Regions from separate parts of the Homo sapiens genome. Here region 2 is linked to region 1. Evidence: promoter capture Hi-C in 16 types of primary human blood cells and fetal thymus (Javierre and others, 2016). All regions are on one chromosome and are shown on one strand. The core of a region is centred on a gene start or on the middle of the fragment in contact, and the rest is flanking DNA. Distances in the headings are between cores, read along the strand shown. Region 1 holds the start of ITPRID1 (ITPR interacting domain containing 1). Region 2 has its middle 40 kb from the start of PPP1R17.

Region 1 (6,325 bases), core at 99-2,598:
ACACCCAGCTAATTTTGTATTTTTAGTAGAGATGGGGTTTCTCCATGTTGGTCAGGCTGGTCTCCATTTGACTTATTTTTAGTGGCTACATACTAGTCCATTGCATGGACATACCACAACTTGTTTCTCTCTGTTTTTTCTTTTTTTTTTTTTAACCACTGCTGTAGAAAGCAGAGCATTTCCCTCATTGCCTTTATAAGTTCATGTATTTTTCTAGTGGAGAAGTAGTGGAAAGGAATGAAAAGGTATTCCTATAACAATTTTTTTAAAAAGCAAAACTTTTCCTCCAAACTCTCCCACTTCTTGATCTCTTGCCTTAGAGGAGTTAGGAAAATGGTCTGGTAAAGTTATGAGTTAGCTATATATTATCCAATAAGAATAGATAATTACTAAATCACCACTTTCTTCTCTTCTGTCAATTCCCCTAAAATTGTTACTGAAATGGGCCAGGCTCTCAGGTCTGAACCAGGAGAAGTGAGAGGGAGCTGTGAATGACTTAATAAAGGTACCTGCTAAAAACACAATTGCTTTTATTTTATATATATTATGTAAAATATTAACCTTTATATATTACATAAAATTCATGTTTATAGTATATATAAAGCAATTTATATATCTATTTGTGTATATATATGTGCAAATATGCTATCTAGTCTGGTTGGAACATTCAATTTCATTAGTATTTAACACATCTTATTCATTAGCAACATATATCTGTTAAAGTTGAAGTACCAACATACTATTCTGACTTGTGGCATTTTGCAAATTATACTGGAGCGATATCCTCACACAAAAATATTACTAGCTGAAAACTAGAAATGGAGCAACACCGTGCTTATAAGCTGTACTTACCTGCTGGACTCTCTCTCTCCCTCATTCCCTGGAATTGGCTAGCTCTCAAAACCACAATATTTAATTGTCAATTATTAGCCCCCACAACTCCAGATTAGCTTTTTTCTCCTCTGCCCCCATCCAGGAAATGGCCAATACTCAATATTCCTTCTTACATTTCAACTCCTTTATCACCAACAGCATTTAACATTATTTTATTTGATTCTAACAACTTCAGTCTGATCAATTTCACCTGCATTTAAAGGAAGCCTATTAGCTAGGTTACAATCTAGAGGGAGAGAAGAAGGTAAACGTTTTGTGTCCCTTTTTTGAAATGATCATGGAGAATATTTAGGTTCCTAGAGCACACACATACAAAAGTTTTTGATAAACAGTCTTACCTTCCTTAGTTGGAGGAGGGGACAAGCAATGTTTATCCCTCAAAGCAGATGATCATGAAAGCCCCCTCCAGCAGCCTCTACCCACCTGCCACAAAAGCTCCACTCCTGAGCCATCTGAAAGTTCCTGAAGGAAACAGTGTAGCATTTGACTAATCTTGCATAACATTTTCATAATCCACACCCATTGTCCTAAGGAAAAACCTGTTTTCCTCATCCAAAGGGATCAGGAAACAATCAAAACAGAAGCCTGCGACAGAATGGCACCTTCAGACAACTAAATCAGACTGAAAGAGACTTCCAGCATTCACGGACCCTCAGGATTTTATAAGCTCTACTTCATGCCAGACACTCGTCTGGAAAAAGGAGATGTGAAGATGAACAAATTGCTTTCCTCTCCCCCTAAGAACGTGCAGCCTTTTAGGGCCACAAGTGTAAAAACAACTAGTAACTTCCGTGGAGGAATATTGAGGCCACAGAGGGAGAGGTGATGAGTTATCCATAGGGAATTTGGGAAGCCCTCTCCCAGGGGATAATGCCTGTGATGAGTTTTGAAGCACGAATAGGAACTTTCCTGATGAACGAGGGTTGAATAGGGTTGGGGCTGTGGGGAGGACATTGAAGGCAAACAGAGCACCATATACAAGATGCACAAAATTAGCCAACAGAATGGTACATTCAGGGAATTGTGAAGAAGTCTGTGTGGCTGAAACATAGACTATATGGAAACAAAAGAGAGAGATGAGACTGAAGAAGCAGAAGTGTTGTCTGATGGGCTAACTTATGACTTAGAAAATAATAACTGTGATGGGGGTATTATAATGATTCTACACTTTAGTGTCTGAATGCAGCATATTGTTTGTAATTGAGAACGAGAAGCATTGGTGGAAGTAGTTTAATGTATATCTAATTGTTCTGTGTGCTCAGAAAATGGGTGGTCTGGTTAATCAAATGACCTAGCTTGAGTGAAGACACTGATTACCAACTTCCAAATAATTAGAATCATTAAAATACATTAAATGTTAAGGCTGTCATTACTGCACATTAATATTCCTTTCACAATTCAAAAGGATGTTCAATACTTTAGAACGGTTCAGGCCTGTTATCAGTGTGAATGTCATTCACCTATCATTAGTGTGAGTATCATCCTGCCTAAGGACACAGGCGATTGCTAACAAGGTCTGAGGAGGAGGTGAGCTTAGGGTTCTCCTATTTGAGAAAACCACTTGCGTTTGAGAGTGTTTTTATACCTTCATGTGCTGGGAACCCTCCTGACAGATTGAATTTGGGCCAGTGTAATAAATGAAGCACTATTCTAATAATGTTAATACAAACAAATAATCAAAAGAAATCTCATCTCCCCATGTGATCTCAGCAACATATGGTCTTGCGGTTGAATCTTGGCAAGTTAATTGTCATAAGAACCCTGAAAGGAAGACAGAATGAATTGGTAATTTTATTCCTAGGTCAGACCTCCATCCTTATTTCCCTGTTCCCACAAACTGGCAAACACTTGAAAGAGCAAGTATGTTCTATTGTTAACATTTCTTCCTCCAGCGAAGTCGCATTAATGACTATAATTTGCTCTATTACTACTGGCTTTGAAGTTTCATTAAGTGGTTTTATATCTATTATTTTGTTATGCTTTGTTTTGTTTTGTTTCGTTTTGTTTCTAAAGACCTGTGGGATACCTCGAGCAGGAATCTTGTTTTGTTTTCTCCCCTACATTTAACATGTCAGAAGCTAAAGCTTAAGAGAGGTGACTTTCTTTGCCCAAGGTCACATGACCTGAACTACAACTCATGTTTCTATCTTCAAGCCTGAATATCCTTGTGTAAGATCATAGTGCCTTGAGCACATTTCCTTAAAATAGAGTCATCCAAAAACAGTAAATTGTACTGTTGGTCTCCAGGAAATCCTGACCAGTTTCCATAGCTTCCCAGTGAATATCTTTTTTATAAGATCATAGTGCCTTGAGCACATTTCCTTACAATAGTGTTGTCCACAGACAGTAAATTGTACTGTTGGTCCCCAGAAAATCCTAACCAATTTCCACAGCCTCCCAGTGACTGTTAGATGATCCAGTGCCCATCTTCCTTAGCCTTCTCTAATGTCCTGACCAGATCATTAGAGACAGGTTGTTTAAAACTTGGCTTGCTTCCTTTCACCTTGACTTTGACTTCTCTTGCTTTCACCTAGTTTTCCCAGGTTCTGTCTCTTGGATCTACTTGGACTCCTCCTCTCTAGTAGCAACCTGAAATATCATGTCTCTTTTGGATGGCCTGTTTGTCCTGAATTTGCTTCTTCTATCAGTATTGCTTTTTTGATCATTTCTAGGAAGACTATGGACTACAGGCCATGAAATAAGTGATATCGTAATCTTATTTCTGGCCCAGTGCCATGCTCAGCATCTCAACCTTCCAGTCACCTGTCAGAGAGATTTTGTCACTGGGGGATATAGGCATAAAGCCAACATCCCCCAAATAACATGGACAGGTATAAAGCTTTTCCACTGTACACCAGTAAAGGGGACAGTTGAACCCTCACTGCATCTACTTCCTGCTTTATGAGCCAGAAGCAAACAATAAGACCCATCATCCACTAGGTTAGCACCAAGATGAGCATCATGGGGCAGGTCAGTCCAAAAGGACTATTTACCCAAGGTAGACTGGATGGATAGTGTAAAAATCGAAATCCTAATCAAGAGGAACCAAAGCCATACCTATGAATACAATGTAGAATGTCATGTCTAAGGATCAAGATGAAGGTTCTAAGGAATATGGGGTCCAGTATGGTGGGACTGAGACCTGCTGCTATAGGACCCAGGTCAGGACAGGAGACATGTAAACAATAAGGAGTAACTTGCTTTTGGCTTTGGGATTAATTATGGATGCAGGCATGATACAGAGGGCACAGACAACCAAATACAGAGATCCGTGAGTAGCCATCTGTAAGACAAAGACAAAAAGCAGAAAAAGGAAAGGAAGTACTTGAAAGAGGAAATGGTAGGCAGTGGAAAGGAGGATGAAAAAGAATAGCAAAAACTCTGGTTTAATAAAATCAGGGCTCCACCCTCATCCAGCCACACTGAGCTGGTCACACCTTCCCAGATTCTCTGCTCTATCTTGCCTCCATGACTTTGCATGCACTTTTCCTTCTGCTTGACACTTTCCTGGTTGGTCCACTTGAAAAATTCCTAAGTATTGGTGCAAAAGCAATTGCGGTTTTGGACTGTGAATTTTAAATCATTATAACTAGGCTCAAGCACATCTTTGTTAATCAAAATACGAACTATTCCCATCAACACATTTTTGTCAATAAGAAAATTTGTTTATTCCGGTAGCATAAAAATCCATGCTTCAGGATTCGATGAACTCTTGGAAGGCATTTTCTGCATCTTTCTGGTTGTGGAAGCGTTTTCTCTGCAAAAACTGTTGACGTGCTTGAAGAAGTGGTAGTCTGTTGGTGAGAGGTCAGGTGAATATGGCGGATGAGGCAAAAACTTCGTGGCCAAGTTGGTTAAACTTTTGAAGTGTTGGTTGTGTGACATGCAGTTGGGTGTTGTGGAGAAGAATTGGGTCCTTTCTGTTGACCAGTGCTGACTGCAGGCCTTGCAGTTTTCCATGCATCTAATCTATTTGCTGAGCATACTTCTCAGATATAATGGTTTCGCAGGGAATCAGAAAGCTATAGTGGATCAGGCCAGCAGCAGACCACACAACAGTGACCATGACCTTTTGTTAATGCAAGTTTGGCTTTGGGAAGTGCTTTGGAGCTTCTTCTCAGTCCAGCCACTGAGCTTGTCATCACTGGTTGTCTATAAAATCCACTTTTCATTGCACGTCACAATCCTATCAAGAAATGGTTTGTTGTTGTTGTGTAGAATAAGAGAAGGCAATGCTTCAAAATGATGATTTTTTACATTTTCCCTCAGCTCATCAGGTACCCACTTATTGAGCTTTTTCACCTTTCCAATTTGCTTCAAATGCTGAATGCCCATAGCATGGTTGACCTTGAGTTCTTTGTCAACTTCTCGGTAGTTGTAAGAGGATCAGCTTTGATGATTGCTCTCAATTGGTTGTTGTCAACTTTCCATGGCCAGCCACTACACTCCTCATCTTCAAGTCTCTCCTTTCCCTTTGCAAAACTTCTTGTACCACCACTGCACTGTACGTTAGTTAGCAATTCCTGGGCCAAATGCATTGTCGATGTTGCAAGTTGTCTCTGCTCCTTTACCACCCATTTTGAACTCGAATAAAAAAAAATCACTCAAATTTACTTTTTGTCTAACCTCATTTCCATAATCTGAAATAAATATAAAATAAACAGCAAGTAGTAAGTCATTAGCAAAAAAAAAAAAAAAAGTGAGATACGTGCATTAAAATGATGTGTAACTAACAACATTTATTTAAGAATGTATTCCAATATCAAACAGCAAATTTCAACGACGCAAAAATCGCAGTTATTTTTGCACCAACTTGCCAGGGCTTGGCTTACAGATGATTTTTCTTTATAAATCTCTCCTTGATACCTTACTTGCCAATTTATTTGAGCACTATGTTCCCAACGCTATTCTAATTTAAGCCTCACCTCAACCCCATGTTATACATGCTGCCATTATTCCATTTTGAAGTGGAGAAACCTTAGACACGGAAAGGTTAAGGAACACAACTTCTCTGAGGAATAATCAGGATTCAAACCTAGGTAGTCAGCTCGGGGGTCTGCACTCTGAACTACACTACCCTGTGTGTTTCCTAAGACAGAGTTAATCCAGCCTTACTGATGCCTTTAACCATGCGTTGCATATATTACCGTAATATCACTTACCATACCTCATGGTAAATATTTAAGTGGCTTTCTTACCCATGAAACTTGAAAGTTCTGGATCAGTGAGTCAATAGCGAGTTAATCACTGTTGTTCATAGCCTCGTACTTGTTAACACCAGAAAATGTTCCCCCTGTATTTCTGATCTCAATTAATGACATAACCATTCACTCAGAATCCAAGCCAGAAATGTGGGGATTATTCCAGGCTTATCCTTTCTTCTTCATTCTCATCACAACCAAGTTTTGTCAGTTCTTTCTCCTGAATTCCT
Region 2 (6,381 bases), core at 199-2,698, 210 kb before region 1:
GTGTCCTTCCTGGAAGTATATTTGGCCCCTCAAATTGTGTCTTCATGCTTTGTCTACAGAAGGCTCCTGAGAATAGTTTAAAATATTTTGCTTCCCCAAGTGGACTCAATCAGAAAAACTTGCCCCAAGTAGTTACAGATCCTGGGTTAAAGGGAGAAGATCTCTCAAGATTCAACACTAACCCCAAACCCACTTCATTACCTGACCCTGATTCCTTACTGGACTAAGCTTACAATTTGGGCCTGGTGTGCAGTCAACATTCTCAGTGTGAATCAGGTAGGTTGTAGCCCTGCCTTTCTCCAATACACTTGATGTGAGTGGCTCTTCCTTGAGAGAAACAGGTGAGTCACCTACTAGGTACTTTAGATTCAGAGTCAGCAGGTAATGCTGAAGTTAAATTTACTGCTATTGTTAAATTTAAAAAGGTAAAATGCAATGCAACTGGGAAAATAGGTTTTACACAATGCAAGACGTTTTGCTTTTTTCCTCTCACTGGGTCCTCAGTAAGTGCCCCCTCTTCAGGCTTGTGCTATATTAACAGTTGAGTTTTTGTAAGATTTGTGACTACTTCCAGAGCAGAGCCTTCGATAAAGAGCAAATGGAATTCATGTAAGCTAAGCTAACCTCACACAAGGCTCATCACTGTGGTTCTCTGAGCAGGGTATTTCCCAGAACGGCCCAAGTGGAAGAACAAAGAAACAAAACTTTTACTGAAAATCTTTTATTGTTTATTTTGTGCTTTTTAAAATGTCAGGCCTGGTGCTAAAAACTTACGCATTTGTTTTTACATTTGGTCCTCGTAATAACCTAACACAGCCTGTATTTATCATTTATATTTTTCTGATGGGGAGGCAAGGCTCCAAAGAGGTAAAGACACCTGCCTAAGGTCCAATATCATCTGCACTATGCAGCCAGAAATTGAACCAGTTCTACCTGATTACAAGGCAAGAAGTCTGGGCTCTAGACTGGAAAGATTTAGCCCCATTGGGTGCAGAATATATTCTTTCACTTCCACCCCTCTTTGTACTTACTCAGCCTTAGCTCTAAAATGTTCTCTTTCTTCTTTCCATACTCTCTTTCTTTGCTAAATTACTAAAACAAAGCTCAAATGTCACCTCTGTGAGTTCCTCTAAGACTTCCCTGGCAGGACTTAACTCTACCTCCTGCTTTTGGGGTTCCAGGACTGACATATATTTAACTCTAGGCAGAGTAGGCTGTCAATATTTGCATGACAGCCTCCTCCAGGATGGTGTGAACTCAGGGAAGGCTGGAATCATGTCTTATTTTATCTCTATATCCTCAGTACTCGGAAAACAATCCACAAATACCTGAGGAATGAGGGAATAAACACATGAATGAATATAAGTTCTAGAACTTAGGAATAGAAAACTGGCTATAAAGACTATGAAATAGCTTCCAAAACAGCATAGGCAAAAACAGAGGGGGATAAAACAAATGTTGCGTTTCTCTTACTTTGGGTATTTGGTTGGCCGGGAATGACTCTTATTAGCCAATGGAAGAAACAGGTTCATGTCTCCCTGGGACTGATTGGTTGCACCTTATGGGCCTGGTTGTCTTCACCCATTAGAGAAATGCTGGCTTGTTTTCTTTCCCAGAGGACAAATGGCAGCTCTAGGCTCCCTTGGGCCCACAGGTTCTAGGATTAGTACCTACAGGACCTACGCACCCAAAGCACTTAGGAAGGATCCTTGTCCGCAGTGGCCTGAGAGACTTGAGTGCAAGATGGTTTCAGAGAACCTCAGCATGGCTGAGAACTGCTCACAGGATTTACCCCATGTTGGGTCCCTATAATCTCAGTGACTATAAATCAACCTTAAGTGGATATCACATAAAACTTTTATTTATTTATTTTGAGAAGGAGTCTTGCTCTGTCACCCAAGCTGGAGTGGAGTGGTGAGATCTCAGCTCACTACAACCTCTGCTTCCCAGGTTCAAGCGATTCTCCTGCCTCAGCCTCCCAAGTAGTGAGGAATATAGGTGCATGCCACCACGCCCGGCTAATTTTTTTGTATTTTTAGTAAAGACGAGGTTTCACTATGTTATCCAGGCTGGTCTTGAACTCCTGACCTCAAGTGATCCTCCTGCCTGGGCCTCCCAAACTGCTGTGATTATAGGCATGAGCCACCGTGCCCAGCTGAAACTCTTAATTTATTGATTTATATGCACACATCTCCCATTGTAGTCTAAAAAAATTAAAGAAAGCTGTGTTTAGAGTCAGGAAATCTTTGTCTTGAACCTGATATTAGATAGTTATTGATTTTGGACTAGTCATTTTCCATCTGTTTCTCAGTTTCCTCCTCTATAAAATGAAGAGAGAGACAATATGCATCAAAGGCCTTAAAAATGTCCAACTATTTGTCTTGGGAATTCTATTAATTTTACCTGAGGAAATCACCAGAAATATTTATGTAAGAAGGTGCATGTCACAGTGGTATTTACAAAATGGAGAACCTGAAGGATAACTGAAGGTCTATCATTAGAGTCAAATGAACTATGGGCCATTCATTGAATGGAACATAATGCAACTATTAAAAAGGAGAATGAAGATGCATGTGCCATAGCTCAGTTGAATGTTTATAATCTTGTTTCAATGCCCTCCAGCAAAAGGCCACCAGAAACACACTTGTAGTTGAACAAGCTAAGCTTATTACTCATTGCAGCAAGGGAGAATGGGCACCACAGAGAACTGTGGGGCGTCTCAGTAAGGTGTTAGAAAGGACTTACAGAATTTGGGCTTGTGATGAATTATTTGGAAAGGGCTTTGAGGACTATGGCTTTGTTCTGAATTGGATGCTGCCAGAAAATAAGGGGAATTCTAAGACTGAGCATCTTTTTTTGTTAATTTTTTTTTTCTTTTTTGAGACAGAGTTTTGCTCTTGTTGCCCAGGCTGGAGGGCAATGGCATGATCTTGGCTCACTGCAACCTCCACCTCCCGGGTTCAAGTGATTCTCCTGCCTCAGGCCTCCCGAATAGCTGGGGATTACAGGCACCTGCCATCACACCCAGCTAATTTTCTGTATTTTTAGTAGAGATGAGACTTCATCCTGTTGGCCTGTTTGGTCTCGAACTCCTGACCTCAGGTGATCCACCTGCCTCAGCCTCCCAAAATGTAGGGATTACAGGCATGAGCCACTGTGCCTGGCCACATCTTAATAAATCTTACCTAGGAGGGAAGACTAGACTGAAGCTAAAGCTGTAATTGATAGAGAAACAACAGTCACTCATATTGGCCAAGATGAGGGATACTTTCTTTGGTTATTTTGTGGTTTGGAGAATGTTTGTGTTTTGTCTGTGATCAGACATGACTACGAATGGTCTTATTTCTGTTTAGGTCCATATCATGGACACAGAGTGGCCTTGTCTGACGGTTGTGTTCTGTGAAATTGTTCCTGTTCAGCAGGAGAATGCCAAGGCCTGCTTGTGAATGCCTGGCCAGCCCCCAATATAAGAGGCTGCTGTTTTCTTTCTCAATTGTTAATTTTAAAAGCCATAATACAAAATTAAATATACAAAAGTACAATATTAAGAGTATTATTTTGCTAGGTGCAGTGGCTCCCACCTATAATCCCAGCACTTTGGGAGGCCAGTGTATGATGATCACTTGAGTTCAAGACAAGCTTGGGCAACATACCAAGACCCCATCTCTACAAAATTAAAAAAAAAATGATCATGTTGGTGCACACCTGCAGTCCTAACTTCTTGGGAGATTAAAGCGGGAGAAATGCTTGGGTCCAAGAGTTTGAGGCTACAGTCAGCTATGATCATTCCAGTGGACGCCAGCCAAGGCAATGGAGTGAGACCCTATTTCTATAAAAGACAAACAAAAAGAGTATTATTTTTAACTCTGTAAAAGTCACGTGAAAACAAATACACCAAAATGTATACCATCATCAAATTCATGAAGTAGAAGTAAGCATAATTTGTTCTACTTTTGTTTTTCTTCCTATTTTTTGGGATTTTTCTCTCTCTCTTTTTTAAAACAGACTTTGCTTCTGTAAGAAAAAGTAACCTGTAAAGGGTAGTTAGATATAACTCTAAATCTAGTAAGAACAAACAAACCAAAAAATAGAAGGCATTAAACTTGATTATCTCCCATCCTTTTTAAAAAACTTTAATTTTGAGATAATTGTGGATACATAAGCAGCTGTAAGAAGTAATATGAGAAAATCCCATATACCCTTCACCCAGTTTCCCCCAGTGGTAACATCTTGCATAGCTATAGTACCTTATCACACTAGGAACCTGGCACTGATAACAATCCAATCCCTTTTTACTTCAACATTCAAAGATTGTTGATGAGTGTTCCCTCACTCCTGATGGACAGTCCTTAGAACCAAATGGACAAAGTGATCTGCTAGCATTTCATAATTTGGTAGACAAACATCACCATCCCAGGGTCTATGTTTGGGGTGAGCTCAGGAAGTTCTCAGTTGTAGCTCTCCTTTTGGTAAGAAATGCCCCATTTAGCTGCCACAAGTTTTTCATGCCAAAAAAGTTGGTTGGGTCTCATCCTTTTGATGGTCTTTTACCAGAAATTGCAATAAATCATGTTGTGAGGACTCATTTTTAGGGCCAAGGCCACTGTTGTTTGCCTGTATTGTGGCTGACGAAAGCAGCAATGTAGAGAGAGCTCCCTTCATACCTACCAGTACCTCCCGATGGCCATCAGGATCATCTTTGTGCAGGCCACAGAGACCCCTGTGGTCCTGGAGAGATGGATGCTGTGCAACACAAGTGGGAGATGCGGGTGGCAAGGTGGCGGGTGTTGCTGTGCAACACAAGTGGGAGATGAGGGTGGCAAGGCTTACACTTTTCCCAGACAAGTCTGTGCTAGGTCCAAAGGAATGAAGGGAACCCTTAAATGCTTACCATATGCCCTGTGTTTTATATATAGTAGCCCATGGCATAGGATTTTTAAATGGTATTTTCCTGTCTCTGTATGGGCTGAGGCTCCACAAAGAAAGCAAAAACAATACTTGGCACATACCCCTGCATTCCAGAGTGCTAATTCACCGATATAAGACTTTCAGAAAGGGCGGTCCCAAAACAGTTTTGCAACCCTTAGCGCACAGCCCACCTTATATGTCTATCAAAGAGTAAAGTCCAGAGGCCAAGAGGAAAGGTATTTTGGAGAAAGCTGTTGGGAAAAGAAAAAAGTTTTGAAGAGGATATTGTGCTCTCTGGATGGGGCAGATATTTAGAGCTGCTATTTCCTGTCATAAGACACTTTAGCAGGTTTCTCAGTCTTTCCTACTAGAAACTTCTAGTTATAATTTCTATGAAGAATCAGAGCCTGGGCTGTGGGGCACTGGGCTAAGGAAAGAATGAGCAAGAATCGGGAAAGAACGATCAATGCCCTTCCCCCATAAGGTTGACAGCAGGTGGGAGATGCTTTGGATTGGCTGTCAGATCAGAATTTCGGATGATATTGGATAAATATTTTAATGCCTGAAAGTCAGTCTTAATGACCACATTGAGACTTTTCTTGTAAGTAGAAGTGCTTGGAGAGCCATAGCATCTTTCCAAGTTGTCATCAAGAGGTGAGGGGACATAGATAGGGCAAAAGGTTGTGCAAGGTGATGGGTAGGAAGACACTAAAATTTCAGGAGAGCAGAAAATGGCAGTCAGACAAGGCTGGCACTTCCATGCCCCTAAGCATGGGCACCTCCTTCCATTTTGCACCATAGACACCTCACTTGCCTTACCTTAATCAGCCCTGCATTCAGCCACAAAGACACCAAAGAACAAAGGATGGTTGCCAGGATAACAGCACTGAGGCAGAATATATTTGACAGCAGAGGTAGGGCAGATATAAAGTTGTTTCTATCTGTACCATTGAGTTCAGACATAAAAAATAAATAGATCGCAAGCTAGCGTGGGGTTTTAGCTTCTTTTCCTGACCCTGACCCTGAGATGATATAGAAGTAAGAAGGAGTGGAAGAATCTAATAAAATGATGCAAAGGCAGTAAGAAATGCTCAGAGAGACTGAGGGTGGTAGGAGCTTGCTTCATATGTGGATTTGCGTGTATGTATTTGGGGGTCAGGAGCGGAGAGACACAGCCAGAGAGGCCAGGATGCTGTAGACGAGAATTAACTAAAGAAAAGTGTCTTAATTTTTGTGTTCCTTTTTCTCCCAGCCCTATTATCCGATATGAATAATTTCTTACTTTATAACCATTCTGTAGCAGAATAGAAGCAGCATCCACTGGCATGGTGGGGAAGTGTGAAGGCTTAGGGCTGGCTGGAGTAGGGCCCAGAGGACAACAGGTGTGGAAGGACCTGACTGCCCTGACTCCGCCTCCTCTCCCAGGTGTGTCTGTCCATCCTGAGAGCAGCTTATTACAAACAGGACAGGGAG

Evidence for each region. Contacts are between HindIII fragments. The CHiCAGO score rates a contact against its expected background, and 5 or more counts as called.
Region 2: a fragment that was not itself captured here is called in contact with the fragment with the promoter of ITPRID1 in region 1 in 1 of 17 cell types (monocytes); the score reaches 5.8 in monocytes.

Annotation. Positions count from the first base shown.
Region 1 is chr7:31,509,113-31,515,437 of GRCh38, reverse strand. It overlaps ITPRID1 (ITPR interacting domain containing 1), which reads right to left and starts at 1,348. Exons shown (of 15, transcript NM_001257967.3): 1 at 1,318-1,348. The HindIII fragment of the contact is 4,160 bases long and covers 1-2,980 here.
Region 2 is chr7:31,723,536-31,729,916 of GRCh38, reverse strand. It overlaps a transcript of PDE1C not described here. Among named protein-coding and RNA genes, the nearest start is that of PPP1R17, 40 kb to the right of the region's middle. The HindIII fragment of the contact is 2,436 bases long and covers 231-2,666 here.